4 separate regions of the Homo sapiens genome follow, and regions 1, 2 and 4 are each linked to region 3. The links are contacts of gene promoters, found by promoter capture Hi-C in blood cells and fetal thymus (Javierre and others, 2016). All regions are on one chromosome and are shown on one strand. Each heading gives the region's core, a stretch centred on a gene start or on the middle of the fragment in contact. The rest is flanking DNA. Distances are from core to core; before and after follow the strand shown.

What was found. The method cuts DNA at HindIII sites, captures the fragments that hold promoters and counts their contacts. A CHiCAGO score of 5 or more calls a contact.
Region 1: a contact is called between a fragment that was not itself captured here and the fragment with the promoter of COCH-AS1 in region 3, in 2 of 17 cell types (M1 macrophages and M2 macrophages). The highest score is 5.6, in M1 macrophages.
Region 2: a contact is called between a fragment that was not itself captured here and the fragment with the promoter of COCH-AS1 in region 3, in 1 of 17 cell types (M1 macrophages). The highest score is 8.1, in M1 macrophages.
Region 4: a contact is called between a fragment that was not itself captured here and the fragment with the promoter of COCH-AS1 in region 3, in 2 of 17 cell types (megakaryocytes and M1 macrophages). The highest score is 6.7, in megakaryocytes.

Annotation. Positions count from the first base shown.
Region 1 is chr14:30,739,259-30,743,925 of GRCh38, reverse strand. No RefSeq gene overlaps it. Among named protein-coding and RNA genes, the nearest start is that of SCFD1, 120 kb to the right of the region's middle. The HindIII fragment of the contact is 1,102 bases long and covers 1,807-2,908 here.
Region 2 is chr14:30,693,445-30,697,822 of GRCh38, reverse strand. It overlaps SCFD1 (sec1 family domain containing 1), which reads right to left. Exons shown (of 25, transcript NM_016106.4): 15 at 2,954-3,050. Among named protein-coding and RNA genes, the nearest start is that of SCFD1, 73 kb to the right of the region's middle. The HindIII fragment of the contact is 319 bases long and covers 2,372-2,690 here.
Region 3 is chr14:30,888,195-30,892,445 of GRCh38, reverse strand. COCH-AS1 (COCH antisense RNA 1) reads left to right here and starts at 2,638. Exons shown (of 5, transcript NR_038356.1): 1 at 2,638-3,062; 2 at 3,191-3,303. It overlaps COCH (cochlin), which reads right to left. Exons shown (of 12, transcript NM_004086.3): 12 at 1,828-2,830. The coding sequence ends at 2,655. The HindIII fragment of the contact is 10,353 bases long and covers 48-4,251 here.
Region 4 is chr14:30,676,382-30,680,645 of GRCh38, reverse strand. All of the region lies in intron 14 of SCFD1 (sec1 family domain containing 1), which reads right to left. Among named protein-coding and RNA genes, the nearest start is that of SCFD1, 56 kb to the right of the region's middle. The HindIII fragment of the contact is 2,722 bases long and covers 1,584-4,264 here.

The DNA of each region.
Region 1 (4,667 bases), core at 1,108-3,607, 150 kb after region 3:
GGCCTCTGCTTTGCTAGGCAAGGTCGGGTGTATGTGACCCCTACACTTCTTTCCACTTTGAGGTAGCTCCTTCCCTTCTTTTCCTGTCCCTGTTTCATTCAGCTAAAGTGCGCGCAGCACTGGCCAGACTCCTCTTCCTCAGGGAATATGCCTGGCCAGAAGCTGTCTCCTGGCCCAAAGTCACACCTGCTTCCTGGGGACAGCCTGTATCAGTGACTACTTGGCAAGGGGTATGAAGTACCGACCTCTTCACTCCAACTCAGGATGAGTCAGAAAGGCCATCCTAGCTCTGAAGCTTCCTCTTGGAGGGCTGGGCCTTTGCTGCCTACTCCTGCTTCTATCCCTTCTGCCATGCGTGTTAGTCCCGATCATCTTCCTCATGCCAATAACCTTCCCTAATAAATAGCCTTCCTGTATGCTAAATGTGGTCTGAGTCTGCCTTCTGGGGGCCTAACCTGTGACAACCACGTTCCACATTTCTGTTATTGATTTATTTTAAAACTTAAGTAAATTTAAAATTTATTGAGACCTTTTTAAAGGTTCAGAATATGGTATACTTTAGTAAATGTTCTGAAAGAACTTGAAAAGTGTGTGTATGCTGCTGTTTTAGGGGCGGAGTGTTATAAAGACATTATCGTGGATTATTTAGGTGGACCCAGTGTAACCATGTGGATCCTTTAAATGTAGAAGAGACAGGCAGAAAAATCGCTGTCAGAATGCTACCTGTGTGTATTAGTCCATTCTCGTGCCGCTAATAAAGATATACCCAAGACTAGGTAATTTATAAACGAAAGAAGTTTAATGGACTCACAGTTCCGCATGGCTGGGGAGGCCTCACAATCATGGTGGAAGGCAAAGGAAGAACAAAGGCATGTCTTACATGGTGGCAGGCAAGAGAGCTTGTGCAGGGGGACTCCTGTTTGTAAAACTATCAGATCTCATGAGGCTTATTCACTACCAAGGGAATAGCATGGGAAAAACCCACTCCCATGATTCAGTTACCTTCCACCGGGTAACTTCCATGACATGTGGGCATTATGGGAGCTACAATTCAAGATGAGATTTGGGTGGGGACACGACCAAACAAATATCATTGTGAGAAAGACTTGACTGGCCATCACTGGCTCACAACATGGAGAAGACAAGCATCAAACTGTTTCCAAGTAACTTAACTACATCCCAGACCAAAGCTTGAGAATAACTGTGGGAATACGAAAATAGCCAGCACCCAACAGGTACAATTTGCATTTAAAATCAATCTAATCAATACTTCCCAGGAATGCAAAATGCCACCCTTTCTGGATTTTGGCCCAGTGAGAACCATTTTGGGCTTCTTACCCCTAGAACTGTAAGGTAATATATTTGTGGTATTTTAAGCCACTACATTTGTGATAATTTGTTATAGCACCAATAGAAGACTAATACAGATATTGTAGGTTTTGTCTTTAGAAGTTTGATTTGGGTCTTTGTTGTATGTTTCATGCCTCTACTCAAAAAGGTCAGTCTTCCCCTAACTTCTTGAACATATGAAATAGCTATAATAAATACTTTACTATCCTCATCTACTAATTATAGCATCTGTGATGTTTTTGGTTAAGTTTAAATTGATTTTTTAATCCTCATTATGTTTTGTGTTTGCCTGTTGCTTTGCATTCCTGGTAAGTTTTGATTAGATTTTAAATGCAAATTTTACCTTGTTGGGTGCTGGATATTTTTGTATTGCTATAGTTATTCTTGAGATTTAGTCTGGGATATAGTTCAGTTACTTGGAAACAGTTTGATGCTTTTGGGCATTGCTTTCAAGCTTTGTTAGGCAGGACCAGAACAGTGCTTAGACTAAGGTTATTTTTTCCTCGCTACTAAGGCAAAATATTTGTGAGTTTTTAAATGCGATTCTCTGGGAATTATGCATTTTTATATTCTGGTTGGTTCCTGGTCCGTCTGAGGACTATTCCTTCTAATGCTTTTGGGTGGTTCTTCTCCCAGCCTCAGGTAGCTTCTTCACTTGCACATGTCGAGCTGTAACAGAGGAGAACCCTCTGCTGAGCTTGAGTTCTCTATGCAGCGCTCTCCTTTCTGGTACTCCATCTTGAAAACTATAGCCCTCTTGGTCACCTTGGACTCCCAGAACTGCCGCCTCAACTAGAGGAGACAAGGGGTCTCCACCTGGGTTCGCCCTTCTGGCACCGCTGTCCAGAACCTTTCTCCAGGCAATAAGCCGAGGCAATCTAAGGACGCTCGCATTTTTTTCCTGTCTCTCAGGGATCACAGTCCTTGTTGTTGATGTCCAATGTGTTAAGAACTTTTGCTGCGTGTATTCTGTCCAGTTTTAAAGTTGTTTCTGATGGGAGGTTAAACCTGGCAAATATGACTCCATCTTGGAAGAAAGTGGTGGTTTCATTTTTTAATATGAAGTAGTTTCATTTTACTTATATGATGTCTACAAGATGAGTAGTAATGTCCCTTTTTTCATTCCTAGTATTGGAGTTTTGTGTCTTTTCATTTTCTTTTTTTTTTTTTTTCTTCCATCTGTTTTGCCAGAAGTTTGTTCTTCTGTATATCAGCTTGGGCTGCCATGACAAGATACTGTAGACTCGGTTGCTAAAAGAACAGACATTTATTTTCTCACAGTTCAGAGGCTGGAAGTCTAAGATCAAGGTGCTCTCAGGGCTGGTTCCCAGTGAAGTCTCTTGGTGGCTTGTAGATATCCACCTTCTTGCTGGGTCCTCATGCAGCCTTTCTTCTGTGCACATGTGGAGAGAGGGAGAGGTGTCTGGTGTCTCTTTCTCCTCTTAGAAGGACACCAGTCCTATTGGATTAGCGCCTCATCTTTATGACCTCACTTAACCTTAATTACCACCTAAAGCCCTATCTGTAAGTAAATGTAGTCACATTGGAGATTAAAGCTTCAGCATGTGAATATGCCAGGGGGTGGGGGTGGTAACACAATTTAGTCCTTAACATTCTCTATCACGTTGGATTCTGACTCATTAATTTCTGCTTTGTTATTTCATTTTACTACCTTTTTCTTGTTGATTTTATTATTTTTCTAACTTCTTGTGATGGATGCTTAGTTTATCAATTTTAACCTTAATTTTTATAATTTGTTTTTGAACTCTAAATGGGCCTTAAAATTCTGTAGTTGTATCAACACGTTTTAATATGTAGTATTTTTGTGGTTGTTCAACTTATTCATTTTAAAATATTTCCTAATTTATAACTTATTGGGTTAATTAGAACTGTGTCTCAACTAAGCCCAGTGTGGGCTTTTGAATTGAAAGTCTGTTATTGATTTCTAACTTACATTGTGATTCAGATATGCTCAAAATGATTTCAGCCATTTGGCTTGCTTCATGGTAAGATCAGATTTTAAAAATATTCCATACCTGCTTCAGAAGATTATATGTTCTGTAATTGTTGAGTACAGGTTCACTGTAGTCAATTAGCAACGTTTGTTAATTGTACTTTCAAATATTTTACATCTTTATTTTTTCCTGTTTGTGAATGCCATGTAAGAATCTCCCAGTATAATTATAAAGTTATTGATGTAAAATACACATAAAATGTATTTTAAAGTTTACAATTCAGTGTATTACATATATTCACAATGTGTAACCATCACCACTATCTAATTCCAAAACTTTTTCATCACCCCAAATGAAACATCGTACCCATTAAGCAGTCACTCCCCACCCTCTATTCCCCTAACCCCTGCAACCACAAATCTGCTTCCTGTCTTTATGCATTTGCCTGTTCTGGACATTTCATATAAAGGGAGTAATACAATATGTAGCTTTTATGTCTAGTTTCTTTCACTCCGCGTAATGCTTTCAAGATTCAACTATGTTGTAGCGTGTATCAGTACTTCACTCTCTTTTATGGCTGAAAAATATTCCATTGAATGAATATATCACATTTATTTATTCAATGATGGATATTTGGGTTGTTTCCACCTTTTGGCTATTGTGCATAATACGTTGGTGTACAAGATTTGTTCAGTCATTTTCAGTTCTTTTGAGAAGATATCTAGCAATAGAATTGCTGGGTTATACAGTGTGATACTGTGATTTGTAATAACACATATAGATTTGGTCTTTGTTCCCAATTCCTGGCACACAGGTGCAGAAACCCTTGTAATAGCCAAAGTAATGTCTTTTTGTAAGGTTATGAGATGCCTGATAGCTGGGGGCTCCTTGATAGCCACAGGACGGAGGCTGGTTGCTAGGGGAACTCACCATGTGATTAGAGGGTTGGAACTTTCAGTCCTATCCTTTGATCTCCAAGGATAGAAGAGAACACATGGACACAGGAAGGGGAACATCACACTCTGGGGACTGTTGTGGGGTGGGGGGAGGGGGGAGGGATAGCATTGGGAGATATACCTAATGCTAGATGACGAGTTAGTGGGTGCAGCGCACCAGCGTGGCACATGTATACATATGTAACTAACCTGCACAATGTGCACATGTACCCTAAAACTTAAAGTATAATAATAATAAATAAATAAATAAATAAAAAGAAGAGGGACTGAAAGTTGAGTTGATGAGCAATGGCCAGTGATTTAATCAGTCCTGCCTGTTAATGAAGTCTCCATTAAAAACCCACAAGTACAGAGTTTCAAGAGCTTCTGGGTTGCTGAACATGGGGAGGTAGCTGGAAGGGTGGTG
Region 2 (4,378 bases), core at 1,282-3,781, 190 kb after region 3:
ATTTTTCCTTGACTTGCATGGCCTTGGTTACTTTTTAAGACTATAGGCTGGTTTCTTCCTAGAATATCACACAATTAAGTTTTGTCTAATATTTCCTCATGATTAGATTTAGGTTATACCGAGGCAAGAATATCACAACAGTGATGCTGTGTTCTTTGCACTGAATCCTACTAGCCCTTTACCTCTCAGCCTTTCCTGAGCTCCTTCCTCTCCACAATCTGCTTAGTACTTTCCCACTATTTTATGTCTCTCTACTGACGACGTTCACTGTGGTTACCTAATAAGGTATTTATCAGGCTTCTCCACCGCACCGTTACTTTTTCTTACAGTTAATAAGTATTTTGTGGGGAGGTATTCTGAAACTGCATAAATATCCTATGAAATTTCAATTTATTCATTTATTATGTCCACATGGACTCTTGGCATCCTCTTTTATCAGTGGGTTATAATCTGTTATTATTTATTTTGATGCTCAAATTGTCATCATCTGGAGCCTATTCAAGCTGACTTCTGGGTTCTTTTGACAAGTTCCATCATTTTTGGAGTAGCTTCCTTGCCTTCTGACACAACAAAAATGTTCCAGACTCATTTTGTACTTTTGCTCCCTGCCCCACCTCTGGAATCAGCTACCTCTCCAAGGAGTCCTAGTGGAAACTGTATTTATAAGGCAGCATCTTTACTAGTTGGGCATTGCTGCTCCCAGGCCCTTTCAGTTGGCAGAGTTACGGAATACATGAGTATACACCGCCCCCCCCAACATACAATCTATATTTATTTCTGTATCTGAACAGATATATAGCGAAAACACTAAGTTCACACCAACACCTCTAATTCCAATCCAACACTACAGGGTTCATTCTAATTTTTTCCCTTTCTATATTTATAAATTCCTCCTCTGACAATGGGAAATTGGGCTTTCTTTATATTATCCAATATATTTATTTAGCCAGTCCCCTGTATATAACAAATATCCCATCTCTGCTTCCATGGGCTTGCTGCATGGATGCCCTTCTTACTTCACTTGAGCTCTGATTTCCTGCAGTGGACCCATCCACATACCTAGACATACGTCTCACCTCACCTAGGCCCAAGCTGGTTTGTTCCTGTGCAGGGGTCACCCTCCTCAATCTGTTATGGTTCTCACACACCTTGCTAGACTACTCCCACATGTGGACACTCTGCTTTCCTTTCCTGAACTTTGACATGCCAGATTACTAATCCTCCCTCTATTCCATGAGTGGATGCCCTTAGTCATCTTGCTCAGGTTCCAACATCTTATTCTGGACCGAAGTGGCACCAGACTGCTACTTTGCAAGAATGCCTACCTTGCTCTATCCTACTTAAATATCTTTAGGGATAAATCGTTTGAGAAAGGGGAAAGGAAAAAGCAGGACTGATTGCCTTTCTGTCAACATGTTTTTTTTGTTTCAACTTTACTCGAAAGTTACTGTAAATAACAAGGAATAGCTCAGAAATGATAGACTTATATAACTTTTTAAATTTCTTTCACTGTAAAATGCATATACCTTTAAAATGCTATGTTCTCACCACAAATCTAGCTTTCTAAAAGTGTGAGCAATACTTATGGCTTCTCAGATGTTTGTATAAATAGAATCTTTAATTATAAAACAGTTTGGACTTTTAAATTATTTTCTAATTTGGATTATAGTCTAAAATTCATACCAAAACTATAACTCAAAAACCATAATTATGCAGCTTAAATAGCTTATATGCAAAATGGGTCCTAGGCTTTCCATTTGTTTTGGAAAAAGCTGAGATTTGAATTCAAAACTATTGTGAAATGATCTACAGGTCTCTAAAGTTTAGGGAATTTCAGAGACTAAGACTCTATGTAGATCCCACAATCTTTATAATTAAAAACTACAATTGGATTACATTAAATTTTTTTTTTACTATTTTTGCCTGTGGTTTTTTTTGTTTGTTTGTTTTTGAGACCAGGTCTTGCTCTGCCACCCAGGCTGGAGTGCAGTTGTGCGATCTTAGCTTACTGCAACATCGTACTCCTAGGCTCAACGGATCCTCCCACCTCAGTCTCCCAAGTAGCTGGGACTACAGATGCATGCCACCCTGCCTGGCTAACTTTCTTCATTTTTTGTGTGTATATGGGGTCTTGCTTTATTGCCTAGGCTGGTCTCAAACTCCTGGGCTTAAGCAATCCTCCTGCCTCAAGCTCCCAAAGTACTGGGATTACAGGTATGAACCACTGTGCCTGGCCAGTCTTTACCATTGTTAAGTGCACAGTTCAGTGGTAAAAAATACGTTTATATTTTTTTGTTCCCTTCATCCCTCCACCTCTCTCCCTTTCCTGGCCTCTGGTAACTCTATCATCATAAGATCTACTTTTTAAGCTTCCACATGAGTGAGAACATGTGATACTTGTCTTTCTGCGCCTGGCTTCTTTTGCTTAACATATTGGCCTCCATAGATCATATTTTCTAAGTACAAATAGTTATATTTTAAGAAAATCTAACATACAAATATTTAAAGTGATTGGCCATAGAGTTCCTTTAAAAGTAAACTCCCTAAACATGTAAAACAGAATTTAGTTTTAGATACATCTTTTCAGGAAATTGAGGGTAGACCAAAGTAATTAGGAAGCGAATCACTTAGAGACACTTGCTTTGAATGTTATACCTTCAAATCTTCCTGGAACCAGCAGATATTAAGCTTTACATATATCACCTTAAACAAGTGAATATAAAATGTGCCTAAATACTATCAAATAAAAGTTCAATGAAATGAAATGCAAATTATTTTTCCACTGTAGGAACTGCTAAGTTATAAAATTTTACCAGAAAATAGCTCATTTAATTATCTTGATATTAGCATTGACTGTCAGAAAAACAACAATTCTATTCAAAGTTTACTCAATTGAAAATGCTGCTTTCGTCAGATATGAAACTTACATTAACCTCAAATTTTTGGTACATACCATCAGGGTCTGATATTATATCTAGAAGAGATTTATCCAGAGTAGTTTTGCTCATTATTTTTTCTTCATATTCAAAATATACATCCAATTTTCTTGCCTGTTTCAAAATAAACATTAGATGAGAATATATTAAGTCATTAAAATACATAATGATCTACTCACCTTATAAGTTTCTATTTTCTATGATCAATTTTAAGATATGTTCTTTCAGACAGGTCAAAAGTACAGTTCAGAAGTACCAGGCTGAAGTACAGTGGTGCAATCTCAACTTCCCAGGCTCATTCCTAACCCAGTCTCCCGAGTAGCTGAGACCACAGGTATGTGTCACCACACCTGGCTAATTTTTCCGTATTTTTTTTTTATAGAGATGGGGTTTTGCTATGTTGTGCAGGCTGGTCTTAAACTCCTGAGCTCAAGCAATCTGCCCGTCTCAGCCTCCCAAAGTGCGGGATTACAGGTGTGAGCAACTGTGCCTGGCTTTCATTTCTTAAAAGAATTTAAAGTGTCTTACTTTTGAATATATATTTAATATAGAAAAAAACCAACAGATTATTTTGTTTACCATATTTGATGGATAAATTCAGCAGTAATTCTGCATAACGTACATATATTAGCAAAGATAAAAACACAATTGTTACTTATTGTATTAATTAGTTACTGGCATACAAATCATATTGTACTCCATGCAAAATTCATGTCAGGTGGTCAAGTTATGTTTACTATTTTAGTGTGCAAATCCACATATATTCACCTTAACTAGATGGAAAGTTACCTTAAACTAAATTATTGTCCTTTTTGTTTTTTTAAAAAAACTTTTTCCTTATTAGTTTTCCTATTTAATATCTTGAAGTTTAAGATAACGGAAACGTAGTAAAACTTTGCTGTGTGAGACCTTTCCTAATTGAAAATTTTGTTGATTAAAATTATCCAAATAAAGTTAACATATTAAGATCCTCAAAAGCAAATAAAAATTATCAAATAACTCTTAAGTTATGCTTCAGATAATTCAGATACTATTGAGGGTGTTAATAATCAAGTGGGAGTAGAAACCATTCATGAAATTATAAAAACAATTTTTATAATTAAGGGTGTAAACAATCAAAGTGGGAGTGGAAACCATTCATGAACTATATTAGGATTTATAGTAATACCAACGTAGAACCAATATACAAATATACAACATAAATACATTATGCTAAAAGGCAGAATGAAATAAATAGCCAATTGAGGAGGAAGTGATATATTTTGAGTTGAAGTTTGAAAGTGATTTAGGGACATAGATATAGTTCATTTCAGTTAAACAGATCATGCCAAGGCACAAGGTAGAAACATCTAAACAGTAGACTAAGGAGTGAATTTGATACATGGAGCAACAAGAAATCAGAGTCATTTCACTGCTACTCCCTTGCAGTGGCACGCAAGGCC
Region 3 (4,251 bases), core at 1,389-3,888:
ACTTTTCTCCTCTTCTGTTTCTTCTTTTTTGAAATAAAGAATAAGCTTTTCCAAAGCTAGAATTGTTTCTAGCACCTATTCCAACCCAGTACATTATCATTGATCTGAAATGTGATGATTATTGGAATGCATAAACATTGACGTATTTTGGAATGTATTAAAACTGAAATGGATAAAAATTAGTATATATGTTTATTTTGTTCTATCTCCTTTGGTTGTATTTTTCTCTGCAGTATTAAACATTTGGAAGAGACTAAAGGTATGCAAAAATAATGTCTTATTTTCATTATGTGTGCTTCCATTTGACACATGGGAAATTAGATTAATTTCACTATTAAATAGTACTTTATACAAATCTTAATATGTTGATTTCTTCAATAGTTAATCATATTCTGCCTCTCATTTCATGTTGTTTTTCTCATTATTTCAAACTAGGTAACTTACCTGTTGAAGACTAACATTGCATTTAATGCATTAAGTTATAAATGGGCCAGCATATTTGAAATCTAAGCATGTTTGCTTAAGTTGGATTGTAATACGTATTTCCTTTTTACTCTGTCTCCTGTAAATAACCTTTATCCTGATTATGTTTACTTACATAATTATTGATAGTAACCTACAGTTCTGATTTCTGCTGTCTTGCTGCTATTCCCTGGTTACTTCAGGTGACTCAAAACTTGGTCCTTTATAAAATTAAAGAAAAAACCACTTTCTTAAAAGGGCTAATGAGTGGTAGCTGGGTTTTCATTAGAGCTTAATTTTCCAAGGGGTTGTACTCCTAGCTGAGAGTTTTTGGTCTACTTACTGGGGAAAAATCATACTATGCTAAACCCAGTTTTTATGATGTTTAATTAAAATTATCCCTGTTACATGATTCAGTCATGTTTGAAGCATTTTATAAAAGGGGAGGTTGTCTTCTCAAACTCTATTTTCAAATTCAAATTTTTATGTAGTGAAAAAGTCAATTCCAGTTTGTTTCTCCCTGCATGTAGTCCTTTTATTCCTCTTATGCAGGGTATAAAATTGTAAGACTCAGAAGATTTACTGGAGTATATTATTCTAACCAGTTAACACATTTCAGGGGGCTTAGGTGGATGAGAGGAGGAGATAGGACCTATCTTTAGAAAAGACAGACAAGGTGGGATGATAGAGCACCTCTGTCTTTTGGGAGAGGCCTTGGTAAGCGAATCATCTAAGTCACATTAAGGGAGTCCTGATGTTCTCCTTTCATAGGAACCAACTTCACAAGCATTTTTAAGTAAAAAATGATGTCAATTACAAAACATTTCTGGTGAAGCAAGTACTCAAAAATATCTTATACTGTTTAATCAGGTAGTGGCTGTGTATAATGCCTAGGACAGTAGGTATTCGATAAACTTGTGTCTTTTTATTTTTTTTTTTATTTTGGAGATAGGGTCTTGCTCTGTCACCCAAGCTGGAGTGCAGTGGTGTGATCATGGCTCACTGTAGCCTTGACCTCCTCGGCTCAAGCAGTCCTCCCACCTCAGCCTCCCAAGTAGCTCAGACTACAGACATGCACCATCCCACCCGGCTAATTTTTTTTTCTTTTTTGTAGAGGGGGTTCTCACTATGTTGCCCAGGCTGGTCTTGAATTCTTGGCCTCAAGCAGTCCTCCTGCTTCAGCCTCCCAAAGTGCTGGGATTACAGGCATGAGCCACTGTGCTTGGCCTCAATAAATAATTGAATCAAAGAAAAAATATTCTTGGTATTATTACATGATTTAAAAAACAATTCAGATTGGTCTTTCCACATGAATTTTTACCATATCCTCAGGGGAGACACTAGCAGTAATAAAAGTAAGCCAGCTTACAATAACTCACTAGCAGTTTTATTGCTTAAATATTCAAACTACAATATTTTTTCTGCAGTTATTTGAAATGTCTTTGTCTTTAAATGTTTATAAGCAGTCAGTAAATACTTTACCAACTTAACTTTTAAGTACTTAGGTGACTTAGAATATAAGCCAAATATATCTATATACATATAAAATTAAGGAGAGAAATAGAAAAATACCTGGCAATCCTGCTCTCTTATTCAGTGTGATATTTTTAGTCATAAGTTGTTATGAAAACACACTACAAAAGCAGTTTGATACAGGTCTCCTTTCTATATCCAGATTTTATAGTCTGCAGTAATAGCTAGCTATTATTGATTGGTTTTAAGAAAATATCCACTTGGGTCAAAATATGTGTACCTGAACCATGTTAAAGAGCTGTGTTCATTTAAGTTTCTCTTTTCATTTTGCTTATATAATCAATACAGAATGGTTAGAGAACGAATGTTGCTTTTGGTCTAAGTATCAGATTCTTTTATTGAGCTATGGAATTTGCATATCTGTACATTTAGTAGGCATGGTTAGAACTCTTAAGGTTTTAATCCACATTATCTCCTCTTTCCTGAGTTTCTAAGAGCCATGATTATGAAGCCTCAGCAGTGTTTTTAACAAAGTACACTGTAAATTGTAACCAGAAGGCAGCGGCTTTAAAGGAGTGCTTATTTGCCTAAATGGCTGTTGACATACTTAATAGTTTTGTATCTGATTCTAGTATGCTAAAGCATTTCAGTATTATGAGAATACAATTTACACACTGGATCCCCTTGTACTTTTTCTTTCAGTTGTCAAAATGTTACCATTATTGCTGGGATTCTAAGAAATCTCTACAAATGCCTCTGATGACATCAGAAACAATTGGTTCTAATCCTGTGAACTCTCTTGTGAAGAAAGCATGAGACTCCTTCGGTTTAGAAGCCATATCTTTCAGGTCATCCAGAGGTGCCCAAGCCACACCAACAGAGAAGATAGTGATTCCTACAATGAAAACATTTTAAAGTGAATTGAAAATCAGGTCTAGCTAATATATGGAATTATGTCTATATGTTTTCCATACACTGTTACATAGTTGCAGCGAAAACTGCTTACTAATTTCTGGACAATTAAATCCCCTGAACAAATTAAGTTTTCACAGTCATTGTGACGAGAGTGGCAAAAGAGTGGTCCAAACCAGAAACTCTGCTATATCTGTAATTCGCCACATTAACAGGTAAGTCATCACTGATAAGAAATAATTTGATAAAGTTCAATATCCATTAATGACAGAACACACCTATAAACTAGGAATAGAAGAAGACTTTTAACCTGATCCACAGTATCTTTTTTAAAATCCTACAGTAAATGCGGATGGTGAAAATTTTCCGTATGAGGTTGGCCTGCATCAAACAGTATACTGGAGTCAGAGTCACAATCCATTAAAGCAAGGAAGAATGGCACAAGAGATGGGATAAGTAAATAGCAAAAGTGTTCAAAGGTTGCATTGTTTGAGGAATGGTGACTAGTCCTCTGATAATGAAAAATCCTCTTCCATTTCAATCTTTATATTGGCAAACTGTCTAATAATCAGAAAATGTCAGCCTATAATCCCAAAGCAAAACTAGTGACTAAAAAGTACTGCCCAAGAGGGATCTTATGAAACTGGAGTAATTTCTTCCAGTTTCATTGAGGTATTCTATTTCCATTCACTTTAGTTACTAGAAGGCTTTTAGTACAACTGTACATTTAGGGTAATAATACATTAGTTGGATTCACCCCAATCCCAATTGTAGAAGTTTTCATTTAATCTTTTTTTTTTTTTTTTCTCAGACAGGGTCTGGCTCTTTTGCCCATGCTGGAGTGCAGTGGTACAATCAAGGCTCACTGCAGCCTCAACTTCCTGGGCTCAAACTATCCTCCTCAGCACCCCCATCCTCAAATAGCTGGGACTACAAGCGCATGCCACTAAGCCCAGCTAATTTTTAAATTTCTTTGTAGAGATGGGGTTTCACCATGTTGTTCAGGCTGGTCTCATCTCGAACTCCAGGGCTCAAGCGATCCATCTGCCTCGGCCTCCCAAAGTGCTGGGATTACAGGCATAAGCCACCACACCTGGCCTCATTTAGCAGATTCTTAGTGTAGAGTACCATCTATCTAATGCTGGGTGCAATTTTCTATAACTTTTGGAGTTTCTGTAATAGTTTTCCTCTACAGATCTAAGGTTTCATTCCCCTTCTAGTGGTATACAGTGCTCAGAGTGGTAAATACCTAAGATATGCAGCAGGTTTAGATGATGTAAAAGCTACTTGGAACAATGTCCAATTGTTCCAGTCTCCTTTTCCTGACTCTCACTCCCTGGTTAAAAAAAAAAAAAGTCAAAATATTTTTTTCCTCCCCCTCAGTTTTCCTCACTTCTTTTCAGT
Region 4 (4,264 bases), core at 1,695-4,194, 210 kb after region 3:
AGTTGTTATTTTTCAGTTTAAATTATTCCTAATCCTATGGTTACTCCAAAGGGATTACAAAAGAGCAAACCATTCTCACTGAATTTTAGTAGATATGTTTTATGGAACTACAGCATGGTAGAGAGAACATGGGACTTAAAAACCCAAGTTAAAATTCAGGCTTTGGTAGATGGTCTTAAGGCAAGTATTCAGTATTTCTGAGATTCAGCTCCTCTGTAGAATGTGGGAATATACCTACTATGTTAAATATCTTATGTAACAGTGAAAAAAAAAGTTCATTCTCCCTTTAAAAGAAAAAAAACCCCACATCCTATGTTTGTATTTTCAGCCAAGGATTAGTTCTGTTCTCTGGGGAACCCTGGCTAACACAGGTTGTTTGCTTTCTCATTATTGAGTTTTGAGATGTCTTTATTCCTTTGAATTTAATCTTTATGAACCTATTAAACTAGGTCTTGCTAAATGACAATGCTTTATCCTCATAAAAGTAGGTATTAGGGAAGTGAGAGCCAAGAGCAAGAAAAAGTTGATTTCATACATATTTTTTTTGAGATGTAGAAGTAGTTCCAGAAATTCACAGTAAGGAGTTGAAGGATATTCCACTCACTGAAGAGCTATCTTTTGTCATACTTGCAATAAAAAACAAAACAAAGCAAAACAAAATACTTCAGATTCTCATAGTAACTAATCTTGAGATGAGAAGAGATAAAAGACAAGTGATAGCTCATCCACTGTGAACTTTCTGATACAGAATATATTTTTCCTCTGTCTTAAAGAAAAGACACCAAGGTAATAAGAACTTTCACTTGATATGCATACTGGACAAGAGATCATTTTAAACAAATCAGCACAAAATCCAGCCAAAGAAATGTTCTGACTTCTAGTTCAGTAAAAGACCTCTAATGTGATCAGGAGCAATAGTGATCAGTTAATCAAAGTCAGTTAATGTTAAAAAAAAAAAAAAAGTCAGTTTATGTGAAGAATAAAACAGGATCTATGTTGTATGTTTAACTTAAGACCTAAAATACGCAGTCTGTCAATCACTGATCTATGTCCAAGACTTCTTCTTTGAGTACAGAGATTCAGTGACTGACATTTTTTTTCTTTCTTGCATAAAGCACACCTATCAGAAATCACCTATGATTTCCAGGTTCAGTTCTTTGGGAGTGGAATAAAAAATTTTAGAGACATTGCAAAGCAATTTCCGTAAAATACAGTATTTTCTGAGGCTTTCCAATCTTTTATGGTTAAGGTTTTTTACCCACACCTAATTCAAACAATATTTATTTAAACCATCATGTTCACTGAGTCTTTCTAAGATGTGCAACTTAGTTTTATAGAAACAATCTTTTCATACTCATACAATTGACATAAATGCAATAAAACACAAATAACTCATTAGTAAGCAAAAAAAAAAAAATCCAATCATGAGAGCAGAAAAAGGCACAAGATGATAATAAGGAAATTGTTATGACATGTTAATAATGTGGCTACTGGCCACTGTGGTTTACAGAGGGCATCAGTTAATTTGGTGTGGTGACTAAGTGGAGATCAGTTAAGAGAGTTTCCACTTTATTTTGAAAGCTTATCTTCCCCATAAAAATATAAGGCAGTTGAACCAAAAAATAAAAATAAAAAGTCAGTCCTCAGAAGGAACACTAGTGAAAAGCTAGCATTGCCAACAAGGGTTAAGCCTTCTTTAGAGTACAGACATCATCACCTAATCAGATGATGTCTTTAGATCTAATTCAGTCCCTATAAGACTGTCTATAAGAACAAGTAAAACAAAAATGAGGATCCAGTAACAATTAAGCCTTGCCTCACAAAGTTTATTGATAGCTTATTTTTTACCAGCTATATCCGGTTGGTTGGAGCATTCAGATGTGGGTGCTTTTCCTCTAAGGTGGGAACACTGGGGGAAAGAACCCATGATACCATTTCTCTCTCTCATCTCATCAACTATGCTTTACAAGTAGGCTTCTTTTCTTTAGGTATCTGGAGCTAAAGAGTACTTTATTCAGGTTTGCTACATAGGTGAGCTAAGAATAATTAAAACAGGCTGTCTACAAATTATGTAAGTAATCCCAGAAGCCATTCTCTAACAACCAGCAAGTGGGAAAGTTGCATTTGTATTAGGGATGAAAAAACAACTAAAGAAAGGGTTTAAAAATATAGATGACTCAAAACAAATGAGTATTCAACAATTTACTCTTTATTAGACCCAAATTACCCAAATCACTAAAATCCTCAGAATATCAATAAAGTGAAAATGTTTCTTAAAGTTATGACAAACTGGTGTGCTCTAATTTTCCACCAAAACATCAATTGCGGGGTAACTGCCAGGATTTCTAAAAAGGTTAATTTCTTCTTTAGAAAACGACTGAAGGAAATGTAAGAAGCGGTTATACTCTAAACAAAAGAAGAAATATGTAAAACTAATACAGTCAAATACTAAGAGAAATGCTGAGACCTCTACATGACACAATCTTCTAGCTAGTAAAAAATATTTACGGCCAGGCGCGGTGGCTCACGCCTGTAATCCCAGCACTTCGCGGGGCCGAGGCGGGTGGATCATGAGGTCAAGAGATGGTGACCATCCTGCCCAACATGGTGAAATCCTGTCTCTACTAAAAATACATAAATTAGCTGGGCATGGTGGTCCGTGCCTGTAGTCTCAGCTACTCAGGAGGCTGAGGCAGAAGAATCGCTTGAACCCAGGAGGTGGAGGTTGCAGTGAGCTGAGAGTGTGCCACTGCACTCCGGCCTGGTGACAGAGTGAGACTCTGTCTCAAAAAAAAAAAAAAAAAAAAAAAAAAAAAAAGGTGCTTAGGTGAATGTATGTTCACAAGTAAGTAAAGCTCAGATGGTCAAGAAATTCTGGTGAAAAGAGAAGAGATTACGGAGCAAAATATTTCTTTAATTAACATTAACACAGCCAGCAGTAGGTGGCTTAACATAGTAATGGTATAAATAAACATGCCGCTTATAAGGATGGAAATTTAAGAGTTATGAAAAGTTATAAGAAATTCTGTAACTAGGAATAATGAGAAATAATGAGAACAATACAGTTTATCTGCTACTTTTGACAAGGAAGAACTTAAAATATTTAAAATAAATATGCTTCTTTATCTAGGATATAAAAAAAACTTCTGATTTTTAATTGGGCTTCTTAGAATGACCCAACTAGGAGTAGTGTGTTCTACAGATGACATTATTTTCCCTCTGTAAAGTGAATGTCCTCAATAGCACACTTTGTTTAAATCAGATCTTATGATGAAAAAGGATCATTAGCAAGATAATGATTCAATAATATCTATTTTTTTGACTGGGTGTGGTGGAATGCACCAATAGTCTTAGTTACTAGGGAGGCAAGGCAGGAGGATCCTTGAGCCCAGGAGGTTAAGGCTATATTGAGCTATGATTGTGCCACTGTACTCCAGCCTGGGTGACAGGGAGAGACCCTGTCAAAATAAATAAATAAGTGAATAAATAAAATCTATCTTTTACATAAAATCACTCAATATCTTGAATGACAGATTAGTTTCTTGGCATAAGATGCTCTGCCAGAGAACTAGCAACCCTAAAGGGAACACTTTCTTTTATAAGACCAAGAGGTCTTCAAGTAGAATTGTTTAGGTTGGGCATGGTAGCATATTAAACTATCTCAGACAGATGGCCTCTGTTAGCAAAAACTGATCTGAAAAACTCACCTAAAATCATTAGTGTAAAATTATAATAAGCACGATAAAAATTTCGTAAGTAAATTATGTCTTATAAATCATTTTTCACCTACACATCTATAATAGTTGTCTTCCAGTTCCACTTTTATTTCCAGAACTCATTGTCCCTTATCCTCCACAGTCTTCTTTATTTTAAAACATAAATCAGATCATGTCATTAACCTCTAATGAGTTATCATACTTAAATTTCTACTTTTTTTGATTCCATATTCTACCATCACTCTTTCCCTCCTCAATAAAGCACAATTTGTCTTTTTCTAGGTTCTCAAACATACCGAATTTGTTTGTCGTAGGGCCTTTGCACTTCTTATTCCCTCTGCCTGGCATGGTTGGCCCTGAGATCTTCACTAATTGGCTCCTTTCTGTGATTCCTGTCTCAACTCAAACATCACCTCATCAAAGGTGATTTCACTTGCAGACTTACTCCAGAGTAGGCCTCTCAGCCATTCTCATATCCCATTGCCTCACATCACCCTGCTGTTTTTGTTGTTCTCATGTCACTAAAATGCCTGAAGTTAACTTGTTTT